Regions from separate parts of the Homo sapiens genome. Here all the other regions are linked to region 1. The links are contacts of gene promoters, found by promoter capture Hi-C in blood cells and fetal thymus (Javierre and others, 2016). All regions are on one chromosome and are shown on one strand. Each heading gives the region's core, a stretch centred on a gene start or on the middle of the fragment in contact. The rest is flanking DNA. Distances are from core to core; before and after follow the strand shown. Region 1 holds the start of GJD4 (gap junction protein delta 4). Region 2 overlaps CCNY-AS1 (CCNY antisense RNA 1). Region 3 overlaps LOC107984220 (a long non-coding RNA gene).

Region 1 (3,799 bases), core at 971-3,470:
CCCGACTCCCAGCTGGTTTCTTTGGCCATGGGTTGAACACAGCACTCCCCACATCTTCTCTCTAATCCACAGACACATACAGAAACCTTCCCATCGGTGCTGGGATGCTCTTACAGAGAGTCGGGAGTTGATGCCCAGATGCCTCCACCTTCTCTGCTTCCCTTACCTCCAGCTAGCTTCAGGTAGCCACTGGAGTTAGGATTTCTTTTCTTTTTTGAGATGTAGTCTCGCTCTGTCACCCAGGCTAGAGTACAGTGGTGTGTGATCTGGGCTCACTGCAACCTCCGCCTCCTGAGTTCAAGTGATTCTCCTGACTCAGCCTCCCAAGTAGCTGGGACTACAGGTGCCCACCACCATGCCCGGCTAATTATTGTATTTTTAGTAGAGATGGGGTTTCGCCATGTTGGCCAGGCTAGTCTTGAACTCCTGACCTCAGGTGATCCACCCACCTCAGCCTCCCAAAGTGCTGGGATTTACAGGCGTGAGCCACCGCGCCTGACCAGAGTTAGATTTCCAAGTAAAGCAAAATGTCACCTAGCAGGAGAGAGGAAAAAAAGAGAAAGAGAAAAAAGACAAGGAATGGGGATGGGGTAGACTTCAAGGAGGAAGAGCAAAGGTGACCAGGATGAGAAGGGAGATGGGTGGGCATGGGCTGCTCAGAAGATGCCCTGAAGGGTGGGACCAGAGGAGCCAACCCTGAGAAGCGCCTGTCACTGACACTGGGTCATTCTTTACATTTCAAAATCATTTTCACATCTCTGGTCACATTTGCATATCACAGTCACTGTGAGTGGGTGAAGAACACATTCTTTTTTTCTGCTTCACTGATGAGAAAACCGAAGCATGAAAAGCTGCAGTGATTTGCTCATGGTCGCGCAGGGCTAATTTATTCCACATTTGGGATGGGCTATTTCTATCACACAGCAAGAGTCAGTAATTGCTTTCCTGATATTTCATTTTTTTTTTAAAGCCAATACCATGAGCAGTCTATTAGGAGACAAATTCTCCTTTATTTTATACTTACACCCTGTGACTATTTCAATATTTTTACTTAACTACAATTTCTCAAATTTCCTTGCTCATGTCGAAGCATTTGACTAAAATATAGCAAAACCACTGTTCCTTTCAAGGGGGTCAAAACGTTTTCCGTGGATGGGAGCATGTCATGTGAGCAAAGATGAAAGTAGCTTTGTTGCACTCTTCTGGGAATCTTTCTAGGGATATTACTAAAGTCAAGAATAGATCAGAAATGAAGAAAAGATGGGGATATAAAGAATAGCTTTCATGGAAAATTGAAATCATTCCTTTTAAAGTTTACAATTTCCACCCTGATCATAGATCCCCAACCCTGCAGGATGGGTTCTTCCCAGATATGAAGGTGGCTGCAGCGATAGGATTTTGACGCAACTGTGATTGATGTCAGCAGGTCCAGACCGTGATATTTCATGACAGATTTAACAGACATTTATTAAGTAGATTCAATGGGAACAGCTCCAGGCTAGATGGGGCTGGGAGATACAAAGGGAAGATGTAATCTGTGAAGGTCGTAGAGGCCAATTAGGGATTGAAATCCCACGGATATGGGTTGTCGTACACCCACTTCACACCAGTTGCTCTTATTCTACACCATCATTTCACATAAGCCTCCCACAAATGGCAAGTGGAATGGCATGATTCTCCTTATTGCAAGATGAGGCTATCTGGAAGGATCCAATGACTTCCCCAGTGAGTAGGGGGCTGCCCCGGGCTTTGCACCCAGGCTTTTGTCTCCAAGCGAAGAGTTGTCACTCACTGCACAGGAAGCAGCAGGAGAATAACCAAGTCACGGTCTAAAGTTGGGACACCCAACTGAGTTTCAGATTTCTGCCTGCACCAATGACACAGGAATTCAGAATAAGGGCGAGATCCTTGTGGGTTCGTGTGATGGTGGCATGGCGATTCATGCTTGATTGAGAAGACAAAACGTGAACACTTTAAGGGCTTCTTGCACAAGTGAAGTGGTTGTGGAAATGTTTTCAAGGAGGAAATGCCTTTTTAATAGAGAAATTTACTTGGCTAGTTAGCAGAAGTTTTCTTTCTTGGGTTAAAAGTAGTTGCTGCTATTATATCCTGAAGCATCTGGCTGTCCTGGTGGGGACATATGAGCGCTGCCACAGGCCGGGAATATCCCAGGCGAGTAAGAATAGCCCACAATAAGAGATGACTGCTGCTTGCTCTGCTGGTCACTGCAGTTGTCAGGAATGTTTCGCCTCAGAGGCAAACGGCTTAGGGCCGTCTCAACTTGGAGACAGAAAAACCCACCTCCTACTCCTGGCTCAGACCTTTGCTTTCTTATCTCCAGCTCACACCTTTAAGTCTTATGTAGTTAAAGGACATTTATCCGCCTCCTTGGAGAACACAGCCCTCCAGTGTCTCCTGCAGCCTGGAGCCTGGGACATTCTGGAAGCATGGAAGGCGTGGACTTGCTAGGGTTTCTCATCATCACATTAAACTGCAACGTGACCATGGTGGGTGAGTATTGGGACCATCTCCAAACTCCTGCGCTGTTTTTATTTCCACTGCCATGGTGGAATTGAGTCCTTAAAGGGTCCAGGTATTTACTCATTTTCAGTGTGCAAGCACCAAGCTGAAAGTCCACCCACTCCCAAAAGAAAGGGCTGTGCCTTTCTGGAGGGAAGAGAGCTGAGGCTTCTAGTTTCTTTGAATGGTTCCGCGGTTCCTCCGTCATGTAAGGGAGTCTTGCGTTTGACATTGTTCTCTCACAGATCATCCTGTGCTGACACTGGGGTGCTGACTCCAAAGACCAAAGCAGGTGGAGGGGTGTTTGTGTGCAACCCTGGTGTGGCTACGTTACCAGGAAAAGGAACAGAACAACAAATGTTAATCAGAAGGTGATACCTTTAGGTTTTATTCTGGAAGCTTGGTTTTTTTTTTTTGTTTTTGGAGACAGAGTCTCACTCTGTTGCCCAGGCTGGAGTGCAGTGATGCAATCTCAGCTCACTGCAACCTCTGCCTCCCGGGTTCAAGTGATTCTCCTGCCTCAGCCTCCCGAGTAGCTGGGACTACAGGCGCCTGCCACCACGCCCAGCTAATTTTCTGTGTTTTTAGTAGAGACGGGGTTTCACCGTGTTAGCCAGGATGGTCTCGATCTCCTGACCTCGTGAGCCACCCGCCTTGGCTTCCCAAAGTGCTGGGATTACAGGCGTGAGTTACCACGCCTGGCCTGGAAGCTTAATTTTTAAGGAGTAGCCATTTCTCTTGTGCACTTTAAACCAAATCCCAAGTTTAGTTATTTTTTTTAACAAAGAAAATAATAGATTTTTGTTTAATGCAGACGACTCACATTTTCAGAGAGGTATGGGGGTCAGAAAAGGATGAATATATGCCGGAGATGCAGTTGATACTTTTCTGGCTCATTATTTTGTAGATTTAGACAAAACCAACTTGATGTTAAAAGTTCAACTCAATGACTCATCACATAATGATATTATTCTTTGTTTGACTGTCTTTACATATTTATTTTTGTTTTGTTTTTATGATGTCAGGCGATGTTTCTCTCATCACAAAACACAATATTCACAAGTTATTTTGGCTGAGTTTTAAACATGTTTCGAAACAGTTGGCCGGTGCCATGAAAATAGGGCTTGACAGTTATTTTGGTTTTCTAGCTTGGTGTCATTCCTTCACGATACATTGAAGAAAGACAAGCCCCATTCATTCCTAATAACTGGAAAAGGGGAAGAGGAATTCTGAATGATTAAAAAATCTGAAAAATGGAATGTTCATAAAGAAATTCAAT
Region 2 (3,584 bases), core at 785-3,284, 280 kb before region 1:
TGTAGAGATGAGGTCTTGCTGTGTTGCCCAGAACTCTTGGGTTCAAGCAAGCCACCTCAACTGGCTAATACATATAGGAATTAAAAGAGGCTGAACACAGTGGCTCATGCCTGTAATCCCAACAATTTGAAACGCTGAGGCAGGAGGACTGCCTGAGACCAGGAGTTTGGGGCTGAGTGAGTTATGATCGCTACTGTATTCCAGCCTGGTCTGGGTGACAGAATGAGAACCTATCTCAAAACAAACAAACAAACAAACAAACAATAAGAGCAAGCAGGAAAAGAAAAAATTACCAACATTAGGAATGAAATAGATATCACCACAGATCTTGCAGACATTAAAACAAAAAAAGATTATAATTATGTAAATAAATTCAATGGCATAGATAAAATGGACAAATTGGTTGAATGCCACAGATTAACCATAGTGATTCAAGAAACTAGAAAGAAGGCCAGGCACGGTGGCTCACACTTGTAATCCCAGCACTTTGGGAGGCCGAGGTGGGTGAATTACGAGGTCAGGAGTTTGAGACCAGCCAGGCCAACATAGTGAAACCCCGTCTCTACTAAAAATACAAAAAATTATCCTCATCTCAGGAGTTTGGGACCAGCCTGGCCAACATAGTGAAACCCTGTCTCTACTGAAAATACAAAAAATTAGCTGGGCATGGTGGTAGGCGCCTGTGATCCCAGCTACTTGGGAGGTTGAGGCAGGAGAATTGCTTGAACCCGGGAGGCAAAGGCTGCAGTAAGCTGAGATCGCGCCATTGCACTCCAGCCCGGGAGACACTGTGACACTCTGTCTCAAAAAAAGAAAAAAGAAAAAAGCCCTATATATGCTAAGGAAATTTAATTATGAATTAAAACTTCCTGCAAAGAAACTTCAGACTGAGGTGGCTTCAGCAGTAAATTCTATCAAATATTTAAGGAAAAATAATAACAAACACACACAAACTCATTCTAAAAACAAAGAAAGATGACTTCTCTAGTCATTGTCTGAGCCCAGACAATGACATTGAAAGGAATACCTCACTGAATACAGTATACCTCACTGAATACAGATGCAAACATCCTTAGTTAAATTTTTGGCAAACTGAATTCAGCAATATATAACAAGGATAATGCATCATGACTAAGTGGGGTTTATCCCAAGAATGCAAGCTTGTTTTAACACTAAAAAAATCAACATACCTACCATATTAACAGAACAAAGGAGAAAAACCATATATGATTCTCTTATTAGATGCAGAAAAATAACAAAATTCGCCATCCATTCACAATTTTAAAACTCTTAGCAAACTGGAAATAGAAGGGACCTTCTTCATCCTGGTAGAGTACACAAGCTCTGAAAAACCTTCAGCTAACATTGTCTGTTAATGATGAACAACTGAATGCTTTCTCCTCAGATTGAAAATAAGGCAAGGATGTCCAGTCTCAGGATTTCTATTAAACATTACACTGGAAGTCCTAGCCAGTACAATAGGCAAGAAAAAGGCAAAGAAAACCATACAGATTGAAAAGAAGAAATAAAACTGTCTATCTGCAGATGACATGATTGTGTATGTAGAAACATTTAAGGAATCTTTATGAAAGGCAAATCAAAATAGTAAGTGACTTTAGCATAGGTTAATGCAAAAAAATATTTTCTGCATACTAGCAATAACCACCTGGAAATTTAAATAAAATATTTACTATAGTATCAAAAACAATACCTCTGGCTGGGCACGGTGGCTCATGCCTGTAATTCCAGCACTTTGAGAGGCTGAGAAGGGAAGATCACTTGAGTCCAGCCCGGGCAACACAGCAAGACCAAAAAAAAAAAAATTAGCTGGGTGTGGTGGTGCACACTGTCATCCCAGCTACTTGGGAGGCTGAGACAGGAGGACTGCTTGAGCTCAGGAGGTCAAGGCTGTAGTGAGCTATGATTATACCACTGCACTCCAGTCTGGGTGACAGAGTGAGGCTTTGTCTAAAAAAAAAAAAAAAAAATACACACACACACACACAAACACCATTTACTATAGTATCAAAAACATGGACTAGTTAGGGATAAATTTAACATAATACATGCAAGGCACCTATACAATTAAAACTATAAAAACATTGCTGAATGTTATGCTGAAAATTAAAGACGCAAATAAATGGAGATATACTATGTCTATGAACTACAAGACTAAATATGATGATGACCATTTTTCCCAAATTGTTCCACAGATACAATGTAATCTTAACTGAAATCCCAGCAGGGGTGGGGCACGATGGCTCACACCTATAATCCCAGCACTTTTGGAGGCTGAGGTGGGAAGACTGCTTGAGCCCAGGAATTCAAGATCAGCCTGGGCAATGTGGTGAAACCCCATCTCTACAAAAACAAACAGCAGCAAAATAGCCAGGTGTGGTGGTACGCACCTGTGGTCTCAGTTACTTGGAAGGCTGAGACAGGAGGATTGCTTGAGTCTGGGTGGTTGAGGATGCAATGACCTGTGATCATGCCACTGCACTTCAGTCTGGGTGACATAGTAAGACCCTGTCTCAAAAAAAAGAAAATCCCAGCAGGCACTTACATAACTTATTCTAAAATTTATATAAAAACACAAAGGACTTAGAATGCAAAAAATTTTTGAAAAAGAACAACAAAGTTGGAATATTCAAACTATCAAATTTCAAGACTGACTATAAAGCTACATTATTATTAAAGGATCAACATTTGGATCAATGGAACAAAATAAATGAACCCGCATGTCTATGGGCAAGTAATTTTTGACAAAGTGGCCACAGTAAGTCAATAGGGGAAAGACAGTCTTTTCAACAAATGGTACCGGAAAAACTGGATATCCATATGGGAAAAAATGAACATTGATTATTAACTTACTCATACACAAAATTCACCTCAAATTGGATCATGTACCTAAGCTTAAAAGGTAAAACTTGGATGGGTGCGGTGGCTCACGCCTGTAATCCCAGCACTATGGGAGAACGAAGCGGGTGGATCACCAGGTCAGGAGATCAAGACCATACTGGCCAACATGGTGAAACCCTGTCTCTACTAAAAATACAAAAATTAGCTGGGCATCGCAGTGCTTGCCTCCTGTAGTCCCAGCTACTTGGGAAGCTGAGGCAGAATTGCTGGAACCTGGGAGGCAGAGGCTGCGGTGAGCTGAGATCACGTCACTACACTCCAGCCTGGGTGACAGAGCAAGACTCTGTCTCAAAAAAAAAAAAAAAGGTAAAATTAAAATTTCTAAAATAAAACAGGAGAACATTTACATGATCTGAAGGGAGTCAAAGAGTTCTTAGATAATTGAATACACACACACAAAAAAACAAAAAAAGACAAGAGCTATAAAAGAAGATAGCAAAAAATTAGACTTTTACAAAGTTAAAGACTTCTGCTCTTCAAAAGACAATGCTAACAAAATGAAGACAAGTCACAGACTGGGAGAAAATAGTCACACAACACATATCTACATACCTGCCAAAGGTATTGTATCTGGAATATATGAAGACTTTTTAGCAACCCAACTAAATTGGAAAAGACACTGAATAGGCACTTTACAAAGATATATTAGTATCCAACATGCACAC
Region 3 (3,660 bases), core at 152-2,651, 300 kb before region 1:
ACAAAACAGCCAACCTAAGAAAAACAACTAGCAGGCACCCAAGGGCATCTCAGGATGAAAAATCTGTGGCTGAACAATTCAATCTACATCATAGCCACTGAGAACAATATTAATTTCTCAATTAGTAGCAAGAGCAGAGAGATCATGAACACATAAGGCTGAGTAGAAAATTGCTAAAACATTTTGAGACATGCTAGCCTAAAAGCTTCTTGTTAGTATGGCATGCTTATTCAGTATAACCAAAACAATATTTATTAGAAATTATAAAGGTAAGGAGGCTGGGCACGGTGGCTCATGCCTGTAATCCCAGCACTTTGAGAAGCCGAGGCAGGAAGATTGCTTGAGGTCAGGAATTCCAGACCAGCTTGGGAAACATAGTGAGACCCTGTCTCTACAAAAATAAAAATAAAAATAATTACCTGGGATGTGTAGTCTCAGCTATTTGGGAGGCTGAGGCAGGAAGATCACTTGAGCCCAGGGATTCCAGGCTGCAGTGAGCCATGACTGCACCACTGCACTCCAGCATGGGTGACAGAGTAAGATCCTGTTTCTTTTTTTTTGAGACTGAGTTTCACTCTTGTTGCCCAGGCTGGAGTGCAATGGCATGACCTCGGCTCACCGCAACCTCCACCTCCTGGGTTCAAGCAATTCTCCTGCCTCAGCCTCCCGAGTAGCTGGGATTACAGGCATGCACCATGACGCCTGGCTAATTTTGTATTTTCAGTAGAGACGGGGTTTCTCCATGTTGATCAGGTTGGTCTTGAACTCTCGACCTCAGGTGATCCTCCCGCCTCAGCCTCCCAGAGTGCTAGGATTACAGGCGAAAGACCATGTTTCTTAAAAAGAAAGAGGAAAGAAGCCCAGGCATGGTGGCTCGTGCCTGTAATCCCAGCACTTTGGGAGGCCGAGGTGGGCAGATCACCTGAGGTCGGGAGTTCGAGACCAGCCTGACCAACATGGAGAAACCCCATCTCTACTAAAAATACAAAATTAGCTGGATGTAGTGGTGCATGCCTGTAATCCCAGCTACTCAGGAGGCTGAGGCAGGAGAATCCCTTGGACCTGGGAGGCGGAGGTTGCGGTGAGCCGAGATCGTACCATTGCACTCCAGCCTGGGCGACAACAGCGAAACTCCGTCTCAAAAAAAAAAAAAAAAAAAAAAAGAGGGAAGGAAGGAAGGAAGGAAAGAAGGAAGGAAGGAAAGAAAGAAAGGTAGATCTATGTCAAATAGAAAAAAACCTAGTCTTTCAAATTTTCCTAATAGATTAAAAGACAAACAAGAGCACAGATTACGATGTGGGGAAAACACTAAGATCCACCACTCTTTATCCACCCATCACAGTCAGCCTGGAATTAGAGCTAATTAGGAAGAAAGGAAAGACCATTCCTGATACCTGCTGGGTGCTAGCCACATGCTCCAGTTTCTCCGTCTCCTGCACCCGTGAATGGGCTTCTGGAAAGCACCAACCCCTCTTCGTCTTTCAGTAGCTTTGCACCTCCTGCACATGGGGGAGCTCAGCATAGGTTTGCTCAGTTCAGGTGACAGGTAGGTTAGAAATGGATTGGGAAAGGTGTTGAAAGTAAGGCTGAGGAGGTTACAATTTATAATCTAATAAGAGCCGTTGTAAGATCTTGAAAAGGCTTTTTTCTCCTTTTATTTTTTTTTTTTTTTTATTTTTTATTTTTTTTTGAGACGGAGTCTCGCTCTGTCGCCCAGGCTGGAGTGCAGTGGCGGGATCTCGGCTCACTGCAAGCTCCGCCTCCCGGGTTCACGCCATTCTCCTGCCTCAGCCTCCCAAGTAGCTGGGACTACAGGCGCCCGCCACTACGCCCGGCTAATTTTTTTGTATTTTTAGTAGAGACGGGGTTTCACCGTTTTAGCCGGGATGGTCTCGATCTCTTGACCTCGTGATCCGCCCGCCTCGGCCTCCCAAAGTGCTGGGATTACAGGCGTGAGCCACCGCTCCCGGCCTTTTTTCTCCTTTTAATTAAAAGTGGTTTGGTTAGCATATTGCAGGTTTTCTCAGCCACAGTACTATTGGCATGTGGAGCTAGATCATTTTTGTTTTGGGGGGCTGTCCTGTGCCTTGTAGGATGTTTAGCAGAATCCCTAGCCTCTACCCACTACATGCCAGTGGCATCCCCTAGTTGCAACAACCAAAAATGTCTCCTGGGGGCATAATTGCCCAGGTTGAGAACCACTAGGGTGTTAGGGGGAGTGCTGAGCCTCAAGGCAGGGGAGATCAGAGGAAGAAGAGCCAAAAAACGTGGGTGGATGGAAGAGACACTAATTCAAGTGTGGTCTAAGAGTAGTGATTCTCATCACTGTTGCCGTGTTGCACAGTATTTAGGAGCCTAATATACAAGTGTCATGTAGTATTGAACTAAAAATCCACAGGAACAATTCATGAGGCATTCCCGTTTGTTTCTTTTGGAAAAATATAAAATCTGACATTGCTTGGAGAAAACCGGAGACAGACTTGTCAGGAAAAGGTTATGGCCACGTGTCCTTTTGCCCGAAGACATTTATCCTTTACGTAACTGGCAATACCAAAAGTAAGCGTGCTTTTTAATGAAAATTGTCATTTTATGGTTACAAAGCTTTCGGTTTATTGTACAAGAGAAAAATTTCCTACAGTTAATGCTCTAATTCCCCCCTGCTAAGGAGTAAATTGTAAAAATACATGCTGTTACTCTTTGAAATGTGGAGTGATGTTCCTTCAAGTCTAGAGGATGCTGCATGAAATCAGCTTCAAGACAGGCTTGAGGTGACAAGAACATGAAATATATATTACATGCAAACACTTTGGTTTTGGAAATCTGCATGTTTATTCCAATGGCATCAGCTGATACTGTGTTCACTGTAACCTAGTAATGTCACAGCAGCATCTGGGGGCATATAATTGTGTCAGAGCTGCTGTTTACCCAGTTAAATGAGACAGAGATTAGGTAAGGTTTGTGCTACTTATCGTTCATTGCCATGGCTTCATCTTCCTAATCCTCCTTATTTTTACCCCTGCAAGAAAGAACAGTTCTAATATCTTCTTGTTTCTGAGTATTGATGATTGGGTTATGTGGATACTTCTGGGTAGATGTCCATTTGGAAAAGATGCTTGCTGAGTGCCCTTTGTACTGACAATGGTGGAAGAAATTTCCTGATTGGGATCTGGCTCTTGATATATGATCCTTAGAGGTAATGTCCCTGTGGATGGTGCTGCCAGTCTGACCCCTTGTAAGACTTCACAGATATGCTTGGGATCATTAGAGTGGGTTTCATTTCTATCACAGAAGGAGTTGATATAAGGTGCAGGAAATCTACTCCTATTTTCCAAAGTTAGTTTCCAGTACAGTAACACATCCTGTGTAATTTTTTACTTAAAATTCATGTTTCATATGCCATTTTTTTTCTTTATGAGAGACAGAGTCTCACTCTGTTGCCCAGCCTGGAGTGCAGTGGTGCAATCTCGGCTCACTGCAGCCTCTGCCTCTCAGGTTTAAGTGATTCTCCTGCCTCAGCCTCCTGAGTAGCTGGGATTACAGGCACACGCCACTACACCTGGTTAATTTTTGGATTTTTAGTAGAGACAGGGTTTCACCATGTTGGCCAGGTTGGTCTTGAACTCCTGACCTCAAGTGATCCACCTGCCTCAGCCTCCCAAA

Evidence for each region. Contacts are between HindIII fragments. The CHiCAGO score rates a contact against its expected background, and 5 or more counts as called.
Region 2: a contact is called between a fragment that was not itself captured here and the fragment with the promoter of GJD4 in region 1, in 1 of 17 cell types (neutrophils). The highest score is 7.1, in neutrophils.
Region 3: a fragment that was not itself captured here is called in contact with the fragment with the promoter of GJD4 in region 1 in 1 of 17 cell types (neutrophils); the score reaches 7.3 in neutrophils.

The regions. Positions count from the first base shown.
Region 1 is chr10:35,603,121-35,606,919 of GRCh38, forward strand. GJD4 (gap junction protein delta 4) reads left to right here and starts at 2,221. Exons shown (of 2, transcript NM_153368.3): 1 at 2,221-2,511. The coding sequence starts at 2,448. It overlaps GJD4-AS1 (GJD4 antisense RNA 1), which reads right to left. Exons shown (of 2, transcript NR_199600.1): 2 at 1,442-2,845. The HindIII fragment of the contact is 9,701 bases long and covers 1-2,917 here.
Region 2 is chr10:35,319,145-35,322,728 of GRCh38, forward strand. CCNY-AS1 (CCNY antisense RNA 1) reads right to left here. Exons shown (of 4, transcript NR_186477.1): 3 at 2,409-2,526. It also overlaps a transcript of CCNY not described here. Among named protein-coding and RNA genes, the nearest start is that of CCNY-AS1, 15 kb to the right of the region's middle. The HindIII fragment of the contact is 1,752 bases long and covers 1,159-2,910 here.
Region 3 is chr10:35,302,638-35,306,297 of GRCh38, forward strand. All of the region lies in intron 1 of LOC107984220 (a long non-coding RNA gene), which reads right to left. It also overlaps a transcript of CCNY not described here. Among named protein-coding and RNA genes, the nearest start is that of CCNY-AS1, 32 kb to the right of the region's middle. RefSeq lists a silencer at 2,180-2,239. The HindIII fragment of the contact is 2,396 bases long and covers 204-2,599 here.